Regions from separate parts of the Homo sapiens genome. Here all the other regions are linked to region 1. Evidence: promoter capture Hi-C in 16 types of primary human blood cells and fetal thymus (Javierre and others, 2016). All regions are on one chromosome and are shown on one strand. Each heading gives the region's core, a stretch centred on a gene start or on the middle of the fragment in contact. The rest is flanking DNA. Distances are from core to core; before and after follow the strand shown.

The links. The method cuts DNA at HindIII sites, captures the fragments that hold promoters and counts their contacts. A CHiCAGO score of 5 or more calls a contact.
Region 2: a fragment that was not itself captured here is called in contact with the fragment with the promoter of LPAR3 in region 1 in 3 of 17 cell types (naive B cells, total CD4 T cells and monocytes); the score reaches 6.6 in naive B cells.
Region 3: a contact is called between a fragment that was not itself captured here and the fragment with the promoter of LPAR3 in region 1, in 1 of 17 cell types (non-activated CD4 T cells). The highest score is 6.7, in non-activated CD4 T cells.
Region 4: a fragment that was not itself captured here is called in contact with the fragment with the promoter of LPAR3 in region 1 in 5 of 17 cell types (M0 macrophages, erythroblasts, naive CD4 T cells and 2 more); the score reaches 6.8 in M0 macrophages.

The regions. Positions count from the first base shown.
Region 1 is chr1:84,891,704-84,895,140 of GRCh38, reverse strand. It overlaps LPAR3 (lysophosphatidic acid receptor 3), which reads left to right and starts at 1,935. Exons shown (of 3, transcript NM_012152.3): 1 at 1,935-2,125. The HindIII fragment of the contact is 2,976 bases long and covers 754-3,437 here.
Region 2 is chr1:83,894,578-83,897,887 of GRCh38, reverse strand. All of the region lies in intron 18 of TTLL7 (tubulin tyrosine ligase like 7), which reads left to right. Among named protein-coding and RNA genes, the nearest start is that of LINC01725, 35 kb to the right of the region's middle. The HindIII fragment of the contact is 1,368 bases long and covers 1,054-2,421 here.
Region 3 is chr1:83,954,633-83,958,125 of GRCh38, reverse strand. All of the region lies in intron 1 of TTLL7 (tubulin tyrosine ligase like 7), which reads left to right. Among named protein-coding and RNA genes, the nearest start is that of TTLL7-IT1, 28 kb to the left of the region's middle. The HindIII fragment of the contact is 3,276 bases long and covers 1-2,986 here.
Region 4 is chr1:83,917,203-83,920,582 of GRCh38, reverse strand. TTLL7 (tubulin tyrosine ligase like 7) reads left to right here. Exons shown (of 21, transcript NM_024686.6): 13 at 749-884; 14 at 2,893-2,979. Among named protein-coding and RNA genes, the nearest start is that of LINC01725, 58 kb to the right of the region's middle. The HindIII fragment of the contact is 834 bases long and covers 1,008-1,841 here.

The DNA.
Region 1 (3,437 bases), core at 686-3,185:
CCCATAGGTGTTTGTTTGTTTGTTTGTTTATCACTGCTTTTCCTCTCTGAATCTGTTTCTCTGTAACACCTTCTGGCCTTCCCCTCACATCTGACCCATCTAGCTGTTAAAAACCATCTATCTGGAAAGTCTCTTTCCTTTTGCAACACAGCTCCCCATGCCCTCTTCACTTTCCTCCTTTTTTAAGGATTCAGATTCAACTCTGTGGGATCCCTGTTCTGCTTTGCAATTACCTCGAGTTCAGGAAGTTCCCAAGGTACAACATAATGCAACATAATGTGTTTCCCAAGTGCCTTTGTTAGTAAGTTGTTTGGATTCAGAACAGATTTTCCCAGCAAAAGAAGGCTCTTAGTGGTGTTTACAGTCTAGCCTGCAACATCTTACTCAACATACTACACCTTTGTTGCGTCAAGTATTCAGTAAATGCTGGTGGTTGAGTATTTCTGTGTTTACCAGGTTGCCCTTCAGCACCGTGATGTTTGAGCTGAGCTGTTCTCTCCCTTGACAGAGAGAGCTCTTTCCGACCCCCGCCCCTCCGAGACGGAGTCTTGCTCTGTCGCCCAGGCTGGAGTGCAGTGGCGCGATCTCGGCTCACTGCAACCTCCGCCTCCCAGGTTCAAACGATTCTCCTGCCTCAGCCTCCAGAGTAGCTGGGATTACAGGTGCGTGCCACCACGCCCGGCTTTTTGTATTTTTAGTAGAGACGGGTTTTCACCATGTTTGCCACCGAGCTTTTTTATCATATGCAAAGCTTCTGCTTGTAAAAGTAAACACATGATCTTTCTTTAGCCCTAGCTTCGCAAGTTGTACTTCTCTCTACACAGTTCAACTGCAAGACACCGCAATAATTTTCTGAACACTTAGATGAAACAATAATTTTCACATGCTGATGAAAACTTAGCTGTAGCCCCGGGGAGGTTTGAGGCACATTAGGCTATTATGGTCTATAGGATAAGACCCACGGAGTAAGGGACGTAACCTTATTAAAACATCCTCTGCAGAGAAAACAGAATCTCTTTGATGGTAGGGGACAGATTATCTAACAGGTTGTTTGCAAGGATGAGGTTCCTAGCTGGCACACAGAAGGGCGCAGTATTAATGGTGAATGCAAGATGAATGAATGAACGGATGGATGGATGGCAAAGGGTCACAGGAAGACATCTGGGCACACAACTCTCATTGCTTCCTAAGGGCCTGAAGTCTGAGTGGGAAGGACTTCACCTCACAGTATTTCCTTTTTGTAAGGTCACCAGGAAAGCACAACTTTGAACATTTCTGTGACTTCGTTATTGCTTTGCAGAATTCAGAGAGAACAATGCCTTCATGACATTTGTTTTACTTTGCATCTTTCTTCTTTACTAAAGGTGGGTCAGTGGAGGTTTTATATTTCAGCTTTGAAAAACAAAGTATCCAGGACTATTTGCCCCAGGAGGCCAAGAAACCTCTTACAAGAACCTTAAATATTGTTGGTTGCCTCTGGGGGCTGTCCGCACCCTCGGGTAGCTTTGGGGTTGAGGTTTCCAGCGTTAGGTCGGGCTTGGAGTAGAGCCTGCCTCCCACGGGGGTGGTGGGTGTGGGCTGCACTTCCCGCAGCCACTTCAAACAAATCTCTGAGGACAGAGGGGCAGAGGGACTGCGTTCTAATACGGAGCTCCGAGGTATGGCTCCGTGAGGCTTGTGGGTACTAGCGGTCCTTTAGTGGGCGCTTTTCCCTCTCGGGGCCGGCCGACCACCCACCTGGGGACGATCCCAGGCAGGAACGCGTCTGCAAGAGCGCTGCCCTCCCGCGGCTCGCACGGGCCCCTTTGAGCGCAGCTCGCGGCCTTGCAGGTTGGGGACGCTCTCCAGTGGGAACGTCGAACGCACCCGGCGGGGCGGGGCGGGGCAGGGAGGGGCCGCTGTCCCTAGGTCCCTCCCTCGCACCGCCAAACTTTCCTTTGGCTCTGGACGCGTCGCAGGGGTCGCTGGAGAGGAGGCGCTCCGCCCGCCCGCCGCGTCCTCCGCTGCTTCTCCGCGCCCGGCTGGAGCCCGGCGCCCGGTCGCCCCGTCGCGCTCGACCCCGAGGGCATGCGGCAGCCGCAGGGGCCCCCGCTCCCGGGCTCGGCGGCGCGGGTGAACGTGAGCGGTGAGTGAGGGTCCGGGCGCAGGGAGGGTACCCCGAGCCGCAGTCACCAGGGCGTGCGTCGTGGGGAGGCCGGGGCGCAGCGGCGCCTGCAGGGCTCTAGCCTGCGGCTTTTCGGGGTTGCCTGGCGTGCAAGCCTGGGCTCCAGACCCACTCCAAACCCCGGGACAAGACTCTCCCGGCGGGTGTATGGCACAACTTGCTCTTTTCCCACCTTTTTCCCCGCTAGGAGCAAAAAGCAATCTAGATGCAAAATCGGCGTTGCGTCCGCTGCTGAGGGCTGGCGGGCTGGGCGCAGAGGCCAGGAGAGCGCCGCACGGGTTGCGTCTGCCTTTGCACACGTGGTTCTTTCCAAACTCAGTCTCATTGCCATCGATGGTGATTAGGAAACTGGGGTTCTCTCGTGAAGCCTAGGGATATAACATTTTTCAGCCTCCAGTTACATCTGGTACTGTGCTGTGTCCGCTGGGGAACAGCTTGAACCATGTGCAGGCTTCTAGAGATTCGGGAACTAGTAACTAGCAACACTGTCGGGGTTGTTTGTTCAGGGTATGCCCCCTCACCACCACGAGACAAAAGTGCTTTTGTTCTGTAGCAGAGTTACTTTATTGCTTTCCCTCAACAAGTTGCAGCTACACAAAATTGCTTAGAAATTCCGCACGCATGTAATTTGAGGAGTGACTGTGAATATTGGAAACAATTTAGTCTTATTAAGGTAATCATTAAAATGGCCCTGAAAAGCATTTGTAGGTTAGTTTTTATTTATTTATTTATTTATTTATTTATTTATTTATTTATTTATTTTTGAGACACAGTCTCGCACTATCATCCGGGCTGGAGTGCAGTGGCGCGATCTCGGCTCACTGCAACCTCCGCCTCCCAGGTTCGAGCGATTCTCCTGCCTCAGCCTCCCTAGTAGCTGGGATTGCAGGCGCCCACCACCACGCTAGGCTAATTTTTTGTATTTTTAGTAGAGACGGGGTTCCACTGTGTTGGCCAGGCTGATCTCGAACGCTTGACCTCGTGATCCACCCTCCTCAGCATCCCAAAGTGCTGGGATTACAGGTGTGAGCCACTGCGCCCGGCTAGGTCAGTTTTTTAAACTGAGTAATTTCCACGAAATGTTTCCCCCGTAATTTGTTATTGTCATTACAACGCTTTTCTTCCTCCTTTTCCTCCGAAAGTAGCATTACCTGGTCTTGAGATGCCGTTTAGAAATAAAGGGCTTTCTCACGGTTCCAACTTAGTCTGTATCAGAGAATAAAGTAAATGTCAATTACAGACAGACAATCAATCTCCTCTTTACAAATTCCAT
Region 2 (3,310 bases), core at 488-2,987, 1.0 Mb after region 1:
AGTTTTTTTTTTTTTTTTTTTTAATGGAAAACACCCAAGGAAGATAATGGGGAGAGAGAGCGCAAGTAGGCAGGAAGAGCCTTAGGGCTACAATGCAGGTCTGACTCCAGTGAATGCAAGGGAGGAGGACTGGGTAGGAAGAACCTCAGACTTTAGTGGATCTCTGAGAAAGTTGTGGTCAGGCTGATGGGGAGCCCAGAACAAAGACTGGCTGTTGAAGGGATCACAGTGAGCAGAAATAGCTCTTCACTCGTATCCCAGCCATGCTTCATCCTTGGCTGGGAACTATCTTGGGAGAGTGTAAGCATGGTTTGAATATTGCAGTGGATCCCCAGTGGGGAAGCCATCAGCTAACTGCATTCTTTGAAACATGTTAATTTAAGTGGCACATCTCCATGGCTGCCACAAAGGCTGTGCGTGATACATTTTAATTTAACAAACATTTATTGATTGCCAATTTTATACAAATAATATGCTAGACACTGTTAGGGATTTTGAGAGTTGTTTACTCATTCATTTATTTGCTCACTTAATCATGCATTCAACAGATATTTATTGAGGGACTACCATGCCCCAGGCACTATTCAAGGTATGGAAGCACAAGACTCTTATTTAAGTATCTTAATTCCATTTAGAGACCATTATGGAAATATATATACCACTTTTCCTGTTCCAGGATTGAGGCATTTGTGGTTATTAGCCTGTTGTAAAGCTCCAAGATTAGAATGACATACACACAGAGTCTTTCACATGCTTTCCTTTTTTCTGTTCTTGGAAATTAAAAAAAAATTATTTGCCTTCAAATTTTCCTTAATGGATGTAAAATGTAAAGATCAAGGGTATGGGAATTAAATCCTGAAAAGAACCCTCACCAGGTGAAAATGGAAATAGTTAATCTTATTTAATGTCATGTTGTGGTAACTCCATACTTGCATAATTTAGCTTTCTGCCAAGAATGCAGTTGCTTTATATAGTTTGTGAGGAATATATATGAAGTATGAAAATATAGTCATGTTGGTGGGCTGCAAAGAATGCCAGATTTGCTGAAAAGCTTATTATCTGATGTGATACCTAAACATAAACTAAGAGTGGAGGATGAAGAGAAATAACTAATGACATTAAGGTTGTACTGTATTTGCATTTATTTTAGGGTGCTAAGAGGTCCTTGTTTATCAAGTATTACTTCTCTAAATAGCAATTTATTTTTAATACCTACTGTGGCTGCTTCTGCATGCATTTTGATGATACTATTTTCCGTCTCTGTTTTATTCAGGCTGACATAGATGCTGTTCAGAGCTGTTCGTTTTGCATCAGCAAAGATGCCTTTACCCTATAGCCATCGCTGCTGCATGCATCATTAGTACAGCATGTAGTGATTTTAATGTTATTTCTAAACCGCCTTCACCTCGTGCCATTATTTTAATTTAGGACCAACTGTTCGGCCATATGGAGCAGTTTGTCATTCAACATCTGTATGCTTTTGCAAAATATGAATTTGTCTGTGTGCTTTATGCCTTCAAATGTGCTATATTTCACATGGAAAAGACAAATCTTTTCATTTTATTAATGTTGTCATTGACTGAATCTCCCATTTGTTTTTTCCCTTGGAGAGCTTAATGTTGGATTGGGATGCTTTTAAAAGTCATAATGTAAGGAAATGGATACCTATATTCTATAAATTAGCCTCACGTAAGCCCACAGATAACACAAGGGCACCTTGCTGATCATTTATTTTTGTGTTTCACGAATTATTCATCTTCCATCCAATTTCTTCAATCCCCAAAGGACCAGAAATCCAAAAAAGCATCACAGGTAGAACTAGCACTAATTTATCTCATTCCAGTCTGATTTCTTGCCTGCCTGGTCTGTGCTTTCTTAAAATTATTAAGTGAGTATTTGGCTAAAAGTACAGTCATTGTCTCCCCATCTGTATAGCCTTCTAAACAAACTATTCCTTACTCCGTGGCCATAAAGGAGGGGGTGCCTAGGCAACCTTGTTTTTACACAGTGATCCCACTCTCCTCCCAAATACCATTTGACTAGAAATGAATCTGAATCTAAGAAGAGATAATGGGGTTCTCTCTAGGCTTTTGCTGCTGGCATCTGGAAAATCTAAATTGTGAGGCAGTGCTGGATGTAGTTAAGAGCGTAGGTCTGGATACAATGAGCTGGGTAATCTTGGGCAAGTTACTTATCTGCTTTGTGCCTGAGTTTTCTCATCCATAAAATGGGGATCCAAAATGTTTTCACGACCAAAAAAATTTTCATAACCCCTAGGCAGCAAAACCTAACCTACCTGAATTCATTTGGTGACAATGACCTGACAAGAAGTTATGTATTGATTTTGTCTATCTCTTGGTTTGAATATTTACATTTTTTTCCTGCAGAATTAATAATATGTATGATTATGGAATCTAAGCTTGAGATTTTTGGAAAGGGACTGTGGACCAATAGTATCTACCTCATGTTTTTGTTTTGAGGACTAAATGAGTTAATATATGTAAAAGTGCTTAGAACAGTGCTTGGCACATGGTAAGTTCTCTCAATGATTTTTTACCTTGTCTACATAGGTGTGACTTTCTTGCAAGGAATGACTTACTAAGACAGGAACCTACTAAATGATAGACCTTGTCTTAAGCCTTGGGGACCTGGTAACTTTATTATCAAGATGGGCACAGTTTACTCCCTTTATATGCATAACAGTCTCCATTAATTAAACAGGAAATTAAAATAAAATAAGGTGCTTGCTAATAAAGGAAGAACTGGGCATTAAGATATCAAACAATAGTTCAGTGGCAGGTAAAGTTTTCCTTAGAAGTGGCATTTGAAGTGAAACATAGAAGTTTATCAGATGAAGAGATAGGAGAAGACTGTTTCAGGCAGAGGAAGGAGCTTATGTGAAGACTCAGAGGAGAGTTGAAGGATTTGGGTTCCTGTTCCCTCAGTCTGTTGTTCCATGCCCTCCAAATTATAGGGGTGGGTCTCCGAGGACCAAAGCTTGCCTTCTTGCGGAGGCTCCTTGAAAACTGAAAGCAAAGAGAAGCAAAGAGGAATGCGTGTTCCCAGTGGTTTGCTCTGGACAGGAAGGAGAATGTGCCTAGTTTGCCCAGACCATGTCAGTCTCACCAATCTGGGAAATTGCTTCTTAGGTAGAGGTGCCTGATGGGGTGCCATGATGCCTGCAGATTTTTCCATCTCCATATTGAAGAAAACATTAGGAATGGAGCAGAAGCATTCCCCATCCCTAACTCCCCGGCTCCATTCTGAAGGTGCTGCTTTTAGTCATGTATGGGCTAGAATATGGTACTGT
Region 3 (3,493 bases), core at 99-2,598, 940 kb after region 1:
ATGTTTTACATAAGTGATGATATCAACCCCATCCTTCTCTTCCTCTTTGTTGTCTTCTTGCTCTTCCTCATTATCATTGTTACAATCCATAGCAAGCTCAGGATAGAGTTTAATTATCTACTCTGTGAAGCCAGGGGCAGACTGGACTCAATGTCTTAGTCTGCTCAGGCTGCTATAATAAAGTATAATAGACTAGGTAGCTTAAACAATAGATATTTATTTCTCACAGTTCTGGAGGCTGGGAAGTCTAAGATAAAAAAGGCTCAAGACAATTAGGTTCCTGGTGAGGGCTATCTTCCTGGCTTTCAGAGGACTGCCTTCTCACTATGTCCTTGGGCTCCAGCTTTTAACGTAGATTCAGTCGAACAAAATCAAGCATCTTTGCGAAATCTTCAATATGTTATATTTAAAGGCTGAATTTTGAAGGTAGCACAAAAAGTGGGAAGGAATATGGGTTTCCTTCCCATACTTCTTCTAATAGGTAGAAGCCACAAACCACTTCAACCTATTAGATGTGTGACTTTGTGCAAGTTTCTTAACCTTGGAGCCTACATTTTCCCATATATAAAATGGGAATAAAAGGTACTGGGTATTTGTTGGGTGGACTAAATAAAGTTATGTGAAAGTAGATACTGGTTTGTACTGGTTCTTTTCTCCTTCCTCTTGTCACAACAAAACAGCTCTTATTATGTTTTTATTTAATATTATTTTACATATTTTTAACTTAACCCTATTTTTGGATCCTCTTGACTTTTTGTTTGATTATTTTAGTAATCTTTGGGTGAGCTAAAAATTAATGTACAAAGACCTCATATATTATGTTTACTGGGGTATGGATTGAGGGTTGCTGGAGAAGGTCTGAGTTTTCTTTGTGTTTCCTTCTTTTACATAAAAGAAGTTTGTCTTCATCTTTTGCCATAAAATATATCAGCAATGTTATCTTCATTGGTTGCCATTTTAGACTTTAGGGGTGGAAAGAATAAATCTTTTACTTTTGCAGCCTAAGAATTTATATCTGCTAAGTGGAAAATTAAAGGATAGGAATTTGATTTGACTCCTTGTTCAGTGCTCTTTCTACCATATTATACTTTCATTTAAATGAAATAAAGGTATTTTCACTTAAATGGAGAACACAGTTTGATGATTTTGGTTATCAACATGATTATATTGATACAAAATTTTATCACATATATTTTACTTTTTTGAACAGGTAATACATATACAGAGTACTAAAGGTAAGTACAAGTAAGTCTCCCTTAGCCCCACCCCTAGCCATAGCAGGCCACAACTGCTCAGTGGATATGTTCCATATATTCCTCTGTTGGTTTGCTCAAGTGGCAGTGTAATATGTAAACTTCTATGTACTTTGCTTTTTCCACTTAAAAATGTGGGTTAGGGCTGGGCACAGTGGCTCACGCCTGCAATCGCAGCACTTTGGGAGGCCGAGGTAGGCGGATCACCTGAGGTCGGGAGTTCGAGACCAGCCTGACCAACATGGAGAAACCTCGTCTCTACTAAAAATACAAAACAATTAGCCAGGTGTGGTGGCGCATGCCTGTAATCCCAGCTACTTGGGAGGCTGAGGCAGGCGAATCACTTGAACCCGGGAGGCGGAGGTTGCAGTGAGCCAAGATTGTGCCATTGCACTCCAGCCTGGGCAGTAAGAGCAAAACTTCGTGTCAAAAAAAAAAAAAAAAAGTGGGCTAGGTGCAGTAGCTCATGCCTGTAATCTCAGCACTTTGGAAGGCTGAGGCGAAAGGATAACTTGAGGCTAGGAGTTTGAGACCAGCCTGGTCAACATAGTGAGACCCCATCTCTAAAATAATAAATAAATAAATACATAAATAAATAAATAAAAATAATAATAAAAGCCTGTTGTGGTGGTGTACACCTGTAGTCCCAGCTACTTGGGAGGTTGAAGCAGGAGGATTGTGGAGCCCAAGAGTTCAAGATTACGGTGAGCTATGATTGTCTCTAAAAAACAATATAAATGAATAAAACAAAATACATAAATAAAATTTTTTTAAAGTGAAAAGTAATATATTGTAAATTACATGTATTTGCTTCTCAGAGCTTGATGACTATTTCTCTTTTCTCTCAGCTCTCATGAATTGATTGGTTGTTTGTTTTTTAAGACACGCTCTGCTGCCAGGCTGTAGTGCAGTGGCATGAACACAGCTCACTGCAGCCTTGACCTCCCTAGCTCAAGCTATCATTCCTTCTTAGCCACCCAGGTATCTGGGACTACAGGCAGGCACCACCATGCCTGGCTAATTTTTAAATTTTTGTGGAGATGTTGCTCAGGCTGGTCTCAAACTCCTGGTCTCAAGTGATCCTCCTGCCTAGGCCTCCCAAAGTATTGGGATTATTTATAGGCATGAGCCATGGTGCCTGGCTAATTAACCGATTTATTAACTCAGTGTCTTAGCCCGTGTGTGCTGCTATAACAAAACGCCACAAATTGGATAACTTATAAACAATAGAAATTTATTTCTCAAATTTCTGAAGGCTGGGAAGTCCACATCAAGGTGGTGGCAGGTTTATTGACGGTGAGGGCTGCTGTTTCTGCTTTTAAGATGGTACTTTGTTGCTGCACCTTCTGAAGGAGATGGATGCTGTGTTCTCATGGTGGAAGGGATGGAAAGGTTGTGTGAAGCCTTGATTATAAAGTCCTTCCCATTCATGAGGAAGGAGCCCTCAGGACCCAATCACCTTCTAAAGGTCCTACCTCATCATACTGTTTCATTGGGGACTATGTTTCAACATGAATTTTGGAGGGACACAAATATTCAAACCATAGCACACATTAACAAGTGCTTATTGAACACTATGGTCAGGCACTATTCTAGGACCTGGGAATGGAGGAGTGAACAAGATAGAAGAAAACCATCTTTTTGGCAGGTGATTATGATAAGGGTAAAAATAAGGCCTGTGATAGCCCAAAAGAGGGAGAAATGAATTTCTTCAGATATAATCAGAGAAAGCTTTCAGGAAAAAGTGGTATTTTATGTGGAATTTAAGTGTGGTAGAAGCTCAACGGAAGAATAGGGAAGAAATGGTACTCTAGCACAAATGTACTGGAATTATTTTGGTTTTGTTTCAATTTCGTGTATCTATTGGTGCTTGACAGTTCTATGTTCAAGGTTAACATTTGCTTGAAATTTTGGAAAATTGATTCCTTTTGTAAATAAATTCTGTTTCTTTATCTTAAAAATCATTTTGTGCTCACCGTCAAATTTTTTTCTGGTTTTTTTTTTTTTTGAACTAGATAGGAAAACAGGATTTTTGTGGGTAATTTTTACCTATTTGGTCTTTTTAAAAAAGTTATGAGTTTTCTTTTACTTTTTTTCTTATAATTTCATGTGTTGTTATAATTAGCTATTATTTGTTGCATTGTCATCGTGTGCTTACAGTAGAGGTTCTCAACCTTAGCTGCACTGGAATCACATGAAGAGCTTTAGAAATGCTGATGGTTGGGCCCCACTTAGTTCTG
Region 4 (3,380 bases), core at 175-2,674, 970 kb after region 1:
CAACTTTTGACATTGCCTGAGCAGGATAAAGGAATGTGTGAGGGCGTTCTTGCACTCATGGTAAGATGTTCTTTCATGGCCTTAACACCATCAACAGTAGTGATAAGAACACATTCCTCCCACTCTACCTCTACCCACTTCTCTCTACTAGAGAGGCAAATTCCACCACTACAAAAGAGATCATCAGAACCACTGCTTACATTTTTGTATACTTCAGTAACCACACTAAGTAAAAACACTCCTGCAGTATCCCTTATTACCTGAACACTCTCCTATAAAGTTCAGTATTTCTCCAATTTGCCCAATCACCATTCTTCCCCAACCATTTCCCCCCAACTAAACCCTTATACTGTACCTTCTGGAACTGCATTGTTTAATGCTAATTCTCTAGATAAACTTTGTTTGTGGATTTGTGCCACTATTAATGAATAGACTGAAAACCTTCATAAAGTTCTAAAAATACTCTTGTGCAATCATTAAAGTTTTGAAAGAATTTTATTAATTAGTGCCCAGTCAGCAAATACTCACATTAGAAAGTTACTAAGTGAATCTATTAGGCCAGTTATCAGTTTTCTGTCTGGAGGTTTAATATTTAATATCATTTTGCACTAATCAGTATAGAAATGCTTATACCTGGCAATGTGACTGGTATAGAATAGATGGTCAAGGATTGTCTATGGAGTTGATGTTAACTATTGAGCTACGACAGCTTCTTTTTAAAAAATTGGTTTATCTGATTTTGTTGTAGACGAATTTATCCTCCTGAAGATAAAGCATTACTTGAAAAGTATGAAAATTTGTTAGCTGTTGCCTTTCAGACCTTCCTTTCAGGAAGAGCAGCTTCATTCCAGCGAGAGTTGAATAATCCTTTGAAAAGGATGAAGGTAAGAGAATGAATGTTTATATAGAGAAAAAAGAATAAAGCTAAACAATATGTCTTTACAGACAAGCCACCTTGGTCCGACATATAAAAACATTTTACTTTTAAGATATGCTTTCCCCAAGCTTTCTATTTTAACAGTTGGTAACATTTCATGATGAACCAACTTACTTCATAAGATATCTACCAAGAAAAATTATGGAGTAGAGAATTGTGATATTATGTTGTAATATCAATATATTATAATAACGTATCTTCTTACATAGATGTGTATATGTAACTGGATAAAGAAACCCATGGAATTAACCTAGTGGTTTGTAGCGTTTTTATTTTTTGGATTATAACAAACATTACATAATACTTTTTCTTGATGCTATGTAGATCTAGCATATGAGAGGAAGTAAATGAAACACACACACACACACACACACACACACACACACTCTAATCTGTACACCATAGTAAAAGGTCTAGCAGTTTTCTATTATAGCATAACAAACCACTTCATTTATTTGCTCATTACTCTGCAATCGTGGCTGGGCACAGCTGAGTGGTTCTTCCGCTTGTCTTTCCTGGGGTGAATCATATAGTAGCATGTATCTGAATGCCCAACTGGGGCTAGAAATCCAGGGTAGCTTCACTCACATGTCTGGTGTGTCAGATAAGATAGCTGAAACATCTGGGAGCTGGCTGGTATCTCTTTCTCCCTACACAGTCTCTCAGCAGGGTAGTCAGACCTCTCAATATAGTAGCTCAGGATTCTAAAAGGGAGCATTTCAAGAAGATTCTTTTTATCCTAGTAGGAGCTCTCTATTTTAGACTTGATCTCTGCCTACATATGTCCAGACATGACAGATGACCCCAAAGAAGAAAATGGCCACTCATCTCTGCTCACCTAGGAAGAACTTGTTCCTCTTTGGAATTTAGTTTCTTTACATTACTTTTTACCTAAAGTAAAGCTTTCTGATGTTTTAGAAAATATGATTGTTTAGTTTATCTGGCCTTTTCTGGCTGTTATGATGAAAGTATTATCTGTTATATTTCTCCTAAACAGAAGCAGAACTCCTTGAGTTTCTTTTTGGCTATATTGTACTGCTATCCATGGAATTCATTGTAAGATTATTATTTAATAAAAAATGTATAATAAGAGTATTTTGGGATTTCAATAGCTAAATTTCCTTAGATTGGGACAAAGAGTAACTTACTTTACACATTTCTACTGCACAGTGAGATTTCTAGTTTCTTCAAAAACCTTTTCTAGAATCCTTTCTTAAATAACTAAATGATACAGTTGATTATACCTCTTTCAGTGTAGCTATTATACTCGTATTGTCCTGGCTTGCCTAATATCCACTGGGGTATATGCTTTTACAAAATTTCCTTTTGATTCAGAATATGACTCTAGTAGAACGCAGGAAAGGTGTTAGGGCACTTGTGGCTTTTTGCTACCTTTGATGACTATAGAATGAAAACCTTTATAAAGTTCTAAAAATACTTTGTGCAATCATTAAAATTTTGAAAGAGTTTCATTAAATAGTGCCCAGTCAGCAAATACTCACATTAGAATGTTTCTAAGTGAAACTGTTAGTCCAATTATCAGTTTTCTGTCTGGAGGTTTAATATCATTTTGCACTAATCTGTATAGAAATGATTCATAAACTTGAAATCTGGAAAACAGCATGAACTTTCCAGAAATTTTAGTGTCCAATGGGCTAATTTATTGAAGTATTATACTCTAAGATTTTAATACTATACTGTACTATAAAGATACATTTGTTTAGGATAATTAATACAGAATAGATTTTGGCTATGTATTAATTATAATGCCAGATTTTAGTGAAAGTTTCAAGAGAATTTGCTGTGACCCTTTAATATTTCTCCTTTTTTCTGAGCAATCTTCACTAAATAATTTCAGGAATCCTTGCTCTGCATTATTTTGTGGAGATTAATCAACTTGGAAAAATTCTAGAGTCCATTAGTGGTTGTAATTTTAATTAGAATATTTTTTGAAGGAAGAAGATATTTTGGATCTTCTGGAGCAATGTGAAATTGATGATGAAAAGTTGATGGGAAAAACTACCAAGACTCGAGGACCAAAGGTGCAGTATATCTCTACCTTCCTTACTTATCAAAGTAGATGCTACTAGCCCTTGATACTTCTCACTATAAGAAAGACTGGTGCTGCTTTAAAAAAGGAACCACAGGGACTGTGTGCCCAGTGCAGGTAAAGTTTGGAAGATGATGATACCTTACACTCAGGAGTTTGTTTTGTTTTATTAGTTTCATTCGTCATTTTGGTTATTTTCCTGATGACAGTGAAAAGACCATGAGTCAGGGCCAAAAGGGACCCAAGAGCTAGTACTCTTATTCTAAACTAAGTATTAAGTTTGCCTCATACCTCTAGACAGATAATTATCAAATAAATGGGTAACATTATAAATAAGGCAAATCATGAACTCTAGAGACCCTAATTAGAAGCCCTGTCTTTTGCTGACCTAAC